3 separate regions of the Homo sapiens genome follow, and regions 1 and 3 are each linked to region 2. The links are contacts of gene promoters, found by promoter capture Hi-C in human tissues and cell types (Jung and others, 2019). All regions are on one chromosome and are shown on one strand. Each heading gives the region's core, a stretch centred on a gene start or on the middle of the fragment in contact. The rest is flanking DNA. Distances are from core to core; before and after follow the strand shown. Region 1 overlaps DOCK8 (dedicator of cytokinesis 8). Region 2 holds the start of DMRT3 (doublesex and mab-3 related transcription factor 3). Region 3 overlaps DOCK8 (dedicator of cytokinesis 8).

The links. The method cuts DNA at HindIII sites, captures the fragments that hold promoters and counts their contacts. A contact is called where the count stands out against the background at its distance.
Region 1: a contact is called between a fragment that was not itself captured here and the fragment with the promoter of DMRT3 in region 2, in 2 of the 25 tissues and cell types used here (dorsolateral prefrontal cortex and lymphoblastoid cells).
Region 3: a fragment that was not itself captured here is called in contact with the fragment with the promoter of DMRT3 in region 2 in 3 of the 25 tissues and cell types used here (dorsolateral prefrontal cortex, hippocampus and thymus).

The regions. Positions count from the first base shown.
Region 1 is chr9:391,065-394,094 of GRCh38, reverse strand. The region is part of intron 24 of DOCK8 (dedicator of cytokinesis 8); the gene reads right to left. Among named protein-coding and RNA genes, the nearest start is that of DOCK8-AS2, 78 kb to the left of the region's middle. The HindIII fragment of the contact is 7,011 bases long and covers 1-3,030 here.
Region 2 is chr9:975,062-978,010 of GRCh38, reverse strand. It overlaps DMRT3 (doublesex and mab-3 related transcription factor 3), which reads right to left and starts at 1,356. Exons shown (of 2, transcript NM_021240.4): 1 at 556-1,356. The coding sequence starts at 1,009. RefSeq lists enhancers at 1,189-1,688, 1,689-2,190, 2,723-2,949. The HindIII fragment of the contact is 20,406 bases long and covers 1-2,949 here.
Region 3 is chr9:461,851-465,141 of GRCh38, reverse strand. DOCK8 (dedicator of cytokinesis 8) reads right to left here. Exons shown (of 48, transcript NM_203447.4): 47 at 1,455-1,625; 48 at 1-983. The coding sequence ends at 923. DOCK8-AS2 (DOCK8 antisense RNA 2) reads left to right here. Exons shown (of 2, transcript XR_002956871.2): 2 at 1-368. Among named protein-coding and RNA genes, the nearest start is that of DOCK8-AS2, 6.6 kb to the left of the region's middle. The HindIII fragment of the contact is 8,303 bases long and covers 1-3,291 here.

The DNA.
Region 1 (3,030 bases), core at 194-2,693, 580 kb after region 2:
CTGCCCTCATCCCTGCTGCAGTGAGGTCCTGGTAGTGGCAACATTTTTCTAAGGCCCCAGGCTCCTTTTCTAAGATTGTCTCATCTGCCTCCAGATTTTTCTAGGCCCCAGTTACTCTGCTATACTCTTGATTCTTTAGAGCTAGCATAGAGAAAGGCTTCTGCCAGCTGCTGTACCCTGGGGGCTCTCACCAATCCTCATTGGCCCCTGAACCTCCCATACATGCTGAGCAGAGTCCTTTTGATCAATGCTTTTCAGTTAACCCTTTTGGGCAACGGAAACTCTGTCCTGCCAGAACCTGACAGACTTAGGTTTTAGGCTGCTGGTAGAACTGGTGTCTTGGGTGATCTGCATGTTGACAAACCCCTGCAATATGCTTAGATCAGCAGGGGCTTTCTTCCCAAAAAACTTCATCTGTTTACCATAAGGGACTTCCTAGAGGTAAGATGGGCCATGTGCTTTAGCTTATGCTTTCTCTCCTGGGCCAACGAAGCCCTAGTAAATAAATGTGCAAGGCCAAAAGCAGTTAGGGGCAGTGAAGTGGTACTGCTGAAGCATTTGGCTGACTTGGAGACTCTCTTTATGGCCACCACCCTTCCTCCAACCCCATCTGTAAATTTGGGATAATAAAAGTTCCTCCTGCCTCAAGATTGCATAATGATTACATTAGATGATGCTTTAAAATGCTTAAAACACTGCCTGGCACATATATAGTAAGATGCTCAGTAGTTTTGATGTGATTATTCTTTCTCCCATTGGTATGCCAACTATTGGTATGCCAACTATTATTGGGATTCTGTGAAGAACAGAGACATCATTACACCTGCAGAGAATGCAAACTTCCTTTGGAAAGAGAGCTCTAAGATGCCACATGGAACCACTCAGAATAAGCAATGCTGAATTCCGCATTGGGAATGAATTATTTGTATGAATTATCCATAGCTGGATTATGACTCAAGTGAATCTTCTTCTTCTTCTTCTTTTTTTTTTTTTTTTTTTTTTTTTTTTTGAGACAGGGTCTCAATCTGTTGCCCAGGCTGGAGTGCAATGGCATGATCAAGGCTCACTGCAGCCTTGAACTCCTAGGCTCCAGTGACGCTCCTGCCTCAGCCTGCTGAGTAACTGAGACTACAAGCACATGTTACCACACCCAGGTAATTTTTTCATTTTTGCAGAGCTAGGCTGAGTGAATCTTCTTTATGGAGAGACATGATGGTGGGTGGGATGTGTAAATAGAAGCAGGATATAAAGGGCATGGGGTGACGGTTTTGATACTTCTCATGCCTCAAGAAACAAGAGGGGAATGGGTCTTATGGCCCAGTCCCTTTCCTGCCAGAGCATGGAGCTCATGTCTCATTGTTAATGCTCTTGCCCCAAGACTTGTGAGCTGCAGCCACCACCTTAATTAGCTCGGCTTTTGGAATGAAAAAAAAATTCTGGTGTTGTCTGAGTACAAATTCCAAAAGACCTGTAGCTCTGTATAGGATTCACAGAACAGAGGTGGTGTAGACCAGTGGATCATTAACAGGCTTAGAAGTCACCTGAGAAGACAGGTAAATGCACAATGCTGGCCTCCAGCCTCCTAATTTTAGTGCTTTGAGAAAGAATCTCTGCTTTATTTTTACTAAGCACCTCCAGGTGGTTCTGTGGCAAGGATTTGGGACCATGCTTTGGGACCCTTCTCAAAACAGAGGTTGGGACTTTGCAAAACTTCATGGGATTTGAATCCTGGGTGTGTTTCTGTGGCATGAACCTGACTTCTTCTGAACTCTATTCCACATTGCTTCCTATTTCCTCCCCAGTGGATGGTTCATTTGTTTCCTTTGCCCTTTGTTCTCTGTGTCCTATTGTTCAGCATTTCTCCCTTTTTCTTGGGCTTCAACTTACATACAAAAACTAGAGCTTAGGTGGAACCCCTCCCATCTCTTTAGTCCCTCTCTCTTTTTTTTTTTTTTTTAGATGGAGTTTTGCTCTTTTTGCCCAGGCTGCAGTGCAATGGCGCAATCTCAGCTCACTGCTGCCTCTGCCTCCCAGGTTCAAGCAATTCTCCTGCCTCAGCCTCCTGAGTAGATGGGATTACAGGCACCCGCCACCACACCCGGCTAATTTTTGTATTTTTAGTAGGGATGGGTTTTGTCACGTTGGCCAGGCTGGTCTCGAACTCTTGACTTCAAGTGACCTGCCTGCCTCAGCCTCCCAAAGTGCTAGGATTACAAGTGTGAGCCACCACACCCAGCCTAGACTCTCTTTAAAAAAAAAAAAAAAAAAAAAAAGATTCACTTAATGGGACAGGGGAAAGAACCCAATGAATATAAAGCTAACATTATCACTAAATCTCAACCTACTCCAAATCCTCTGAACTGTTTGCATATATATTTTTATATAGTTGGTGTCTATGTCTTTAGACCTCTTTCATTCAACATCATCTCATTATGCATCTCTGTTTATCAACATTGAGAAAATGTTTATTTTTAGTGCCTCTATGGGAAAATCCTTTTGCTTCCATTAATAATTAAACAAAAAAATAGTTATCACTATTATTCCCCTTATTTTAAAATTAAGGTATTATGGCTATACCTTTTGCTTTTCTGCTCGAGTAATGGTAGAAGTTTTAGGATAAACAGATATACAAATTTCATTCTGTTTTCCAACAGATATTAATTGGGCCTTGCATGGTACCAAGCAGTGTGCTGAGGCTAGAGATGGGATAATACACAAGAGAGACCCAAATCCTGAAAATCTAACCGCTGAGACAGAAAAAACAATTAGAAATTGTGATAACCACTAGGAAAGAAATAAATAGGGTGCTCAGAAGGAGGATAATAGAGGAAGATATATTACAGTATTAGGTGGTCAGAAAAGGCCTCTTGGGGATGGTTCCACTGAAGCTGAAATCTACAGAGAAGAATAGAAACTGTGTGTGTTGGGGGTGCGGAGGTGAAAGTTAGGGAGCAGGAAGAGAATCTGGAAAAGGCTGTGAGGCCAAAATGGCCTTGGCATCTTCAAAGCACCAAAAGAGGACCATGTGGC
Region 2 (2,949 bases), core at 107-2,606:
TTCTGAGAGTTGGATACTTGTCCTCACTCAAATTTTCCTGGGCCCTGGGCAGGGCCGGGCCGGCCGAGAAGCACAGCCAGCTCGACTCAGCCGAGTGTTGGCCTTGGCTCCTTCCCTACACCTACCTACCCATTCCAACCCCCAAATGGCAAGGACCTCTAAAGCCTGCAGCCAGGAAAATCCGACCCCACCGTAGTGAGTGTGCGCACGTGGGTTTTAATTTTGTCCTGTCTCAACTCCGTTGTCTCCCTGCTCAATCTGACACGTTCCGAACCCTTCAACCTGGGAAGGCACCTGGCGATACTGACGCACAGTCCCGTCGTTTGGCTGCCCGGAGGCGCCTTCCCTGCGGGCGCGAGTGCCACTCGCGCTGGGTCCAGACTCAGCCGGCTTCTCCCGGGAGAGGAAGCCCCGGCCTGGCGGAGAGTAGGAAGGAAAGCCCCGACAGGCCCACGTCCCAAAACTTTGCCTCCAGTCCTCCCAAGTGGAGCTGCAGCTGGCACTCCGAAGTTGCCCCCGCGCCCGGCCAAACTCCCGCACCTCAGACGCTCTTACCTGGCTTGGCGAGCTGCGCCTGCAGAGCCCCGGGCTGCGGCTCGGCAGTCCAACGCAGCGCGGCGGCCGCGGCCAACTCGGCAGCAGGGCGCGGCGGCTGCGGCTGCGACGGCTGAGAGGCTGGCGGCGGCTGCGGGGCGGCGACGGCGTCCCCCGGCGGCGGGGGCCCTGGCAGAGCGCGCAGCGAGTCGGGGATGAGGCTCTCCAAGCTCTCGTTGGCCTGCTGCCGGCGCAGCGCCACCTGCGCAGCCATGACCCGCTGCCGCTCGATGATGAGGATGCACTTCTCGCAGGTGCAGTCCTTGAAGCGGCAGTAACGCTTGTGGCCCTTGAGCCAGGACAGGACGCCATGGTTGCGGCAGCGCGCGCACTTGGGCGTGCGCTGCAGGGGCGCCCGTGGCGGCTGCGACACCGGGCCGCCCATGTACAGGTAGGGGGAGCCGTAGCCGTTCATGCCCCGGGCTCCCGAATGAGTTGGCAGCCTGGCTGCGGGAGAGGGCCAGGGAGCGCTGGACGGCGGGGCTGCGAGGCCCGCTCAGGGGCGGCCTCCGGGCGACGCGGCCCTTGGTCCCGCAGCCCCGGTGGTCGTGTGTGCTCCGGGGCGGCCGGAGGTGCCGCAGTCGTCTCTCCAGCTCCCTTCGCGCTCACAGCTCGGCCTCCCAGCTCACGCCCAGCCAACGCCGACGCGGGCCTCTGCCTTGGGCGCGCAGCCGGGTCGGCACGTCCTCCTTCGCGGAGGCGCTGCGGCGGCTGCAAGGAGCCGGCGACAGCTCTGATTAAGGTCTGAGCCAGCTCTTCTGCAGCTCCCTCGTGAGCCGGCCGGACCCAACACCTCCGCCGCCCTCCCCCAACCCCTCCTCCTTCCCACCGCCACCCCCGCCCCTGGGGTCCCTGTCTCCTTGCACTCCCCGCCCCACGCCTTCCTCCTCCTTTGCGCCCCTCGGGTGCCTGCACTTCACCTTCCTTGCCACCTGCAGCCAGGCCACTCTCGCGGGGGCGCTCGCGGCCCCCTCCTCCAAGCCCTCTCCGCTACCCCAGCCCGCGGCTGGAGACTGCGGCGCTCCAGAACGCGGCGGTGCTCGCGGGGCGGAGAAGGGGAGGACCAGCGGGAGTGAGGGTGGGGGTGCCTGTAAGCGAGTGAGGTGGCCGCTCCGCTTCTCTCTCTTCTCCTCCCTCCAGTCCAGATCTGGCCGCGTTTTTCCGAGCCCAAGGCCGCTTTTATCCCGACATTTGGCCGCAGAAGCTCAGCTCCGGGAGAACTCGAACCTACGGGAGTGTTGCGGTTGCACCCCGGACCTGGGTGGAGTTTAGGATAGGGGAGTGAAGTGATGTTGGTTTAGGAAAGTTAGGCTCTTTTCGTAATTTCCTTTTAGAACGTATTTTTTTCTCTTTTGTTGCTTTAGAAGAAAATGGTTTTGGAGATCTGCCGGCCCAAGGATGACAAGCCATTTTGCAGGCGAATTTTACTTTTCTACCCTCCTGTCCATGTTTTAATATAAAACAGTATCCTGAAAGGTCAGGGACGTACGTGCTCCTGTAAAGGATTTGTTAAGCGCCGGGTATAAACTTTCAAGGGGCAGACACAGAAGCCACATTGGCGCCCCCAAAGTTACCGATATCCTCTTCCCTCGCTCCCAGCAGCTACTGGAAGCAAACGGAGGTCTTGCGCCAGCCACTCAGTTCAAATCCCCACGGATTCTGTGATTCAGTTATGGATATGGGATGGGGCCACTTTTTCACCTCCTTAACCCATAGACCCCAGTCATAGATGTCTTGGGGGAGAGGGTCCTTCACAAGATGACAGCAGAAAACTTTGTTTAGATTATTTGCGTGTTCCCATTCTCCCAGGAGTAGCGGGCTTGGCCTAGTGCAGACTATCGCTATATATGCACAAAGAAGGCCCTCCACCCTCGCACCTCCCCACTGCCCATCAGCAAACAAGCAAAAACCAAAAAACAAACAAACAAACAAAACAAGTGGATACACTGCAGGGCAGCACAATAGCTCTATGCGAAGCGGGGCAGTTCCAGAGCCTTCGGTGGATGCGCTTCTGAGAGCGTGCACCAAGCCCATCTCCTGGTGGGGAATCAAATGCTAGATGAGAGCGTAGGCAAGTCCGCTGCAATGTCCGACCCCTCATGGGCACAGAGGCCCTTGTCCCCTCGGGGAGGCCGCTTTTCTCTGTACTGCCCTGGAAGTAAGCAAGCAACCTGAAAACTTTCCTCTGGTGTTTGCCATGAATTCAAGGGAAGCACCTCCAGGCGTTCTAGCAGCCAACCCTCTGCCCAGAAGGCTGATTTGCGGAGAGGAGGGTTGAAAACCGAACCCCAGTTGTGTGTTTCCCTTGAAGCCCTTAGCTGTTCCCGTTTCATACGCGTCCGGGAGGTGGGGATC
Region 3 (3,291 bases), core at 376-2,875, 510 kb after region 2:
TGTCAAAAGAAGTCAAAGTTGAATATATTTTGTAGCTGATATACATATGCTGACAGACAGCACAATGTTCTGAAATGAAAACAGAGATATTATTGCTTTATAAAAAGAAACTTGGTCCCAGAGAGGAGAAAAATAGATAGTACACAAGAGTGACATAAGAAAAAAAGCAAAGCATTATCGGAGAATTGTTTCCATTTAAGTGAAAGCAGTATCTGTGATTTCTGGCTGACTGCTCCAAGTACCGTGTATCTCCTACATCAGTGCTTTGAATGTATTCTTCTATAAATGCATGTTAAATTAATGTAACAGTAATAATAAAACAAAAATAACTATACAGCAATTAGTCCACCATTACCAAAAGGGTAACAAGTTCACAAATAATCTCCTCCCAAATTTCCAACCATGATGATTTTTGGAATTGTAGTAAGGCTTCCCTTTGTAGATTTATTGAAAATGTTTCGTACTCCTACAAGTTTGCCCTGCCTTCCTATAAAGAGTGAAATTCAGTTTGAATCGACTGGTGGATAATTTTTCCATTTTTCCTCAGGCAATTTGAGTTACTCCAATAAATTCAAATATGGGCCAGAGGAAATCATCTCTCAGATGGGCAGTGATTGGCCAGTCAGCAGGAGAAGCTGCTTATGCCTTGTTTGGTACATTGTGGAAAAACACACTTTAATAAATACGCAGTCATGCCTGAGTACCCATCCTCCATCCCGCCACCCCCCAGTATGGCAAAAATCTGGTCAGAGTCCATTTGGGAATAATTCCATGGTTCCTGGGATCCCAAAGCTTCCAGAGTGCTGGCTGATCAGGGAGTGTACAGTCAGTCCTGGGTGGCAAATGTCCCATTTTTTAAGTACCAGCAAGTCCTTCTCCAGGGTTGCAGGGCCACAGTCTCCACGAATGAAGATGGCTTTTCTTAGCTGCCCTGTGACAACTGGGTTTCACATTTCCTGAAACTAGATCTGTGGAAGGAGTCCCTGAAATTAAGAAAAGAGAGGGAGGAGAGGGAAAGAGAGCGTACAGAAGCAAGAAAAGATCAGTTAGCCTTTTAGAAAGGGTTGGGGGTGGATCACCCAGTAGAAATGGACATCAGTCATGGACAACTCAGCAAATAATAAGTGAAAGGTCTGCGACCCCTTCACACTGTGCCAAAACAAACATACAAACCAACCAAACAAACAAAAAAACCAACACAGGCCATCATTCAGCCCTGGGAATACCCTGGCACAAGACCAACACCAAGGTGTCTGGGAGAGGTCAAGGAGCAGGGATGGGGAGGACAGAGGCAGAATGAATCACACTCTGGTAGCCTCTCTGACTGTGGGACCCTCTTCCACCCTTTCGAGGTTCTGCAGCTCCCCAAGTGCAGCAGAGCATGCCCCAAGGTGCTAGGCCCCATGCGCTGCTCTTTATCCCACAGGAAGAGGCCTCCTCTGCCCTGTTCTTACCTCTTTTGACTCTCAACTCTGAATATTGGCTTGTACAGTTCTGGAATTTTCCGCTCGATCATTGGCCTGAGGTTCTCTTTTAGCTTGTTATAGTTCTTTTTGAGTTCCTGCTGATATTCCCTCTGGTCTGCCGTGATGAGACGCTTGTTTTTCTCTACAGCTTCACCACATCTGAGATGAAAATATCAGTGTGGGAGAAATAAATGACTTTGAAGTGCTTAGAAATCTGAGAACAATGAAATTACTTACGATTTTTCGAATAACTTTAAGAACGTTTTCAAACTGGGTGGCATATCGGGATCACCTGTGGAGCTTTTCAAAATGCAGATTTCTGGGATCTATCTCAGACTTAATGAATCATAACTGCTGAGGGGTAGCACCCAGAAATCTCTGTGTTTGTTTTTTTTTTTTACCTTATTTTATTATTTTTTGAGACGGGGCTCACTCTATCACCCAGGCTGGAGTGCAGTGGCATGATCACAGCTCATGGCAAACTTCGACCTCCTGGGCCCCAGTGATCCTCCTACCTCAGCCTCCTGGGTAGCTGGGACTACAAGTGTGGGCCATTGCTTCTGGCCCAGAAATGTCTAATGTTAAAAAGTTGCCCAGGGGATACTGAAGCCAACCTAGCCAGAATTGAGAACCTCTGACTTGCTATGTGCCAGAAGAAGTTTCAAGAAGTTTTACATGCATTATCTGTTTAATTTTCCCAACAACCCTAAAAAGTCAGCATTTATCTCTATTTTGTTTCTGAAACTCAGAAATGTTAGGATGCTTGCCCAAGATAACACTGTGAGGAAGTGATGGATCTAAGAGTCAGACTCAAAACACACTGCAGAATGGAAGCTGTTACACTTACAAAAAACTCACTGTGATTTACAGCAACATGGCAGACAGAGCAGATGGCATTCAGCCTCCTCCTGCTACGTACATATGGAAGTGCTAGGAAAGCACAGCAAAAACTTGTTGAAAGAGAAAGGGGAACACCAGGTGCCAGAAAGAAAGAGAAAAATCAAAGCTAGAATGATCACAGGAGCTGGTGACAAGGCAGCTGTCAGTAGGACTGCCCATTAAGATTTTAGGACTGTGTATAGGTCTATGGGCTGAGGGGAAGGGGCTTCAAAGCTCACACAAGATTAGTGATGTGGCCTTGGCCAGGGCAAAGGGAGATTCTGGATATGCCACCTGCATATCGTCCAGAGCCTTGAAAAGCTATCCCATCTATGAAAGAGGGTTTAGAAAAATGCTGCAAGATGTCCAGAGAGGCAGAATGAAAACTTGCTATCAGCTTAGGGCCATTTATGGAAAAGAAAGTCATATTGAGAAATGGAAATTCTAGGCTTGCACCACACATAGTATAAGTTACAAATGTACATTCCTTGACTGTATGTGCTTCAAGGTGAGAAAATAACTTAAAAGCCAGTCCAAGATTACTGAAATTGCTAGGATTCAGCCAAACCAACATAAAGTTGTTCTGGAGGAACACATTCTCAATCAGGGCATATGAGCCACTCTCGCCAAAGATGAGCTCACAATAAAAAATTACAAACCATATGAAGAAACCAACCACCACGAGGGAAAACTAACAGATGCATCAAACAAAAGAATTAGTCCAATAAGAATTAGAGATAATAAAACAATGTAAAAAACCAAAGTTAATATAGAGAGGTAATAAAATGTATAAAATCCTAAGTAATCATGTAACTAGAAAAAAAAAAAGAAAATAAATAAAAGGTATAAAATCCATGATAAAAACAAATAAACAGGGAAAATGAAAAAAGAGACCAGGAAAAGTTCAGAAAAGGACCAAACAGAACTTCTAGAAAAAAGAAAAATG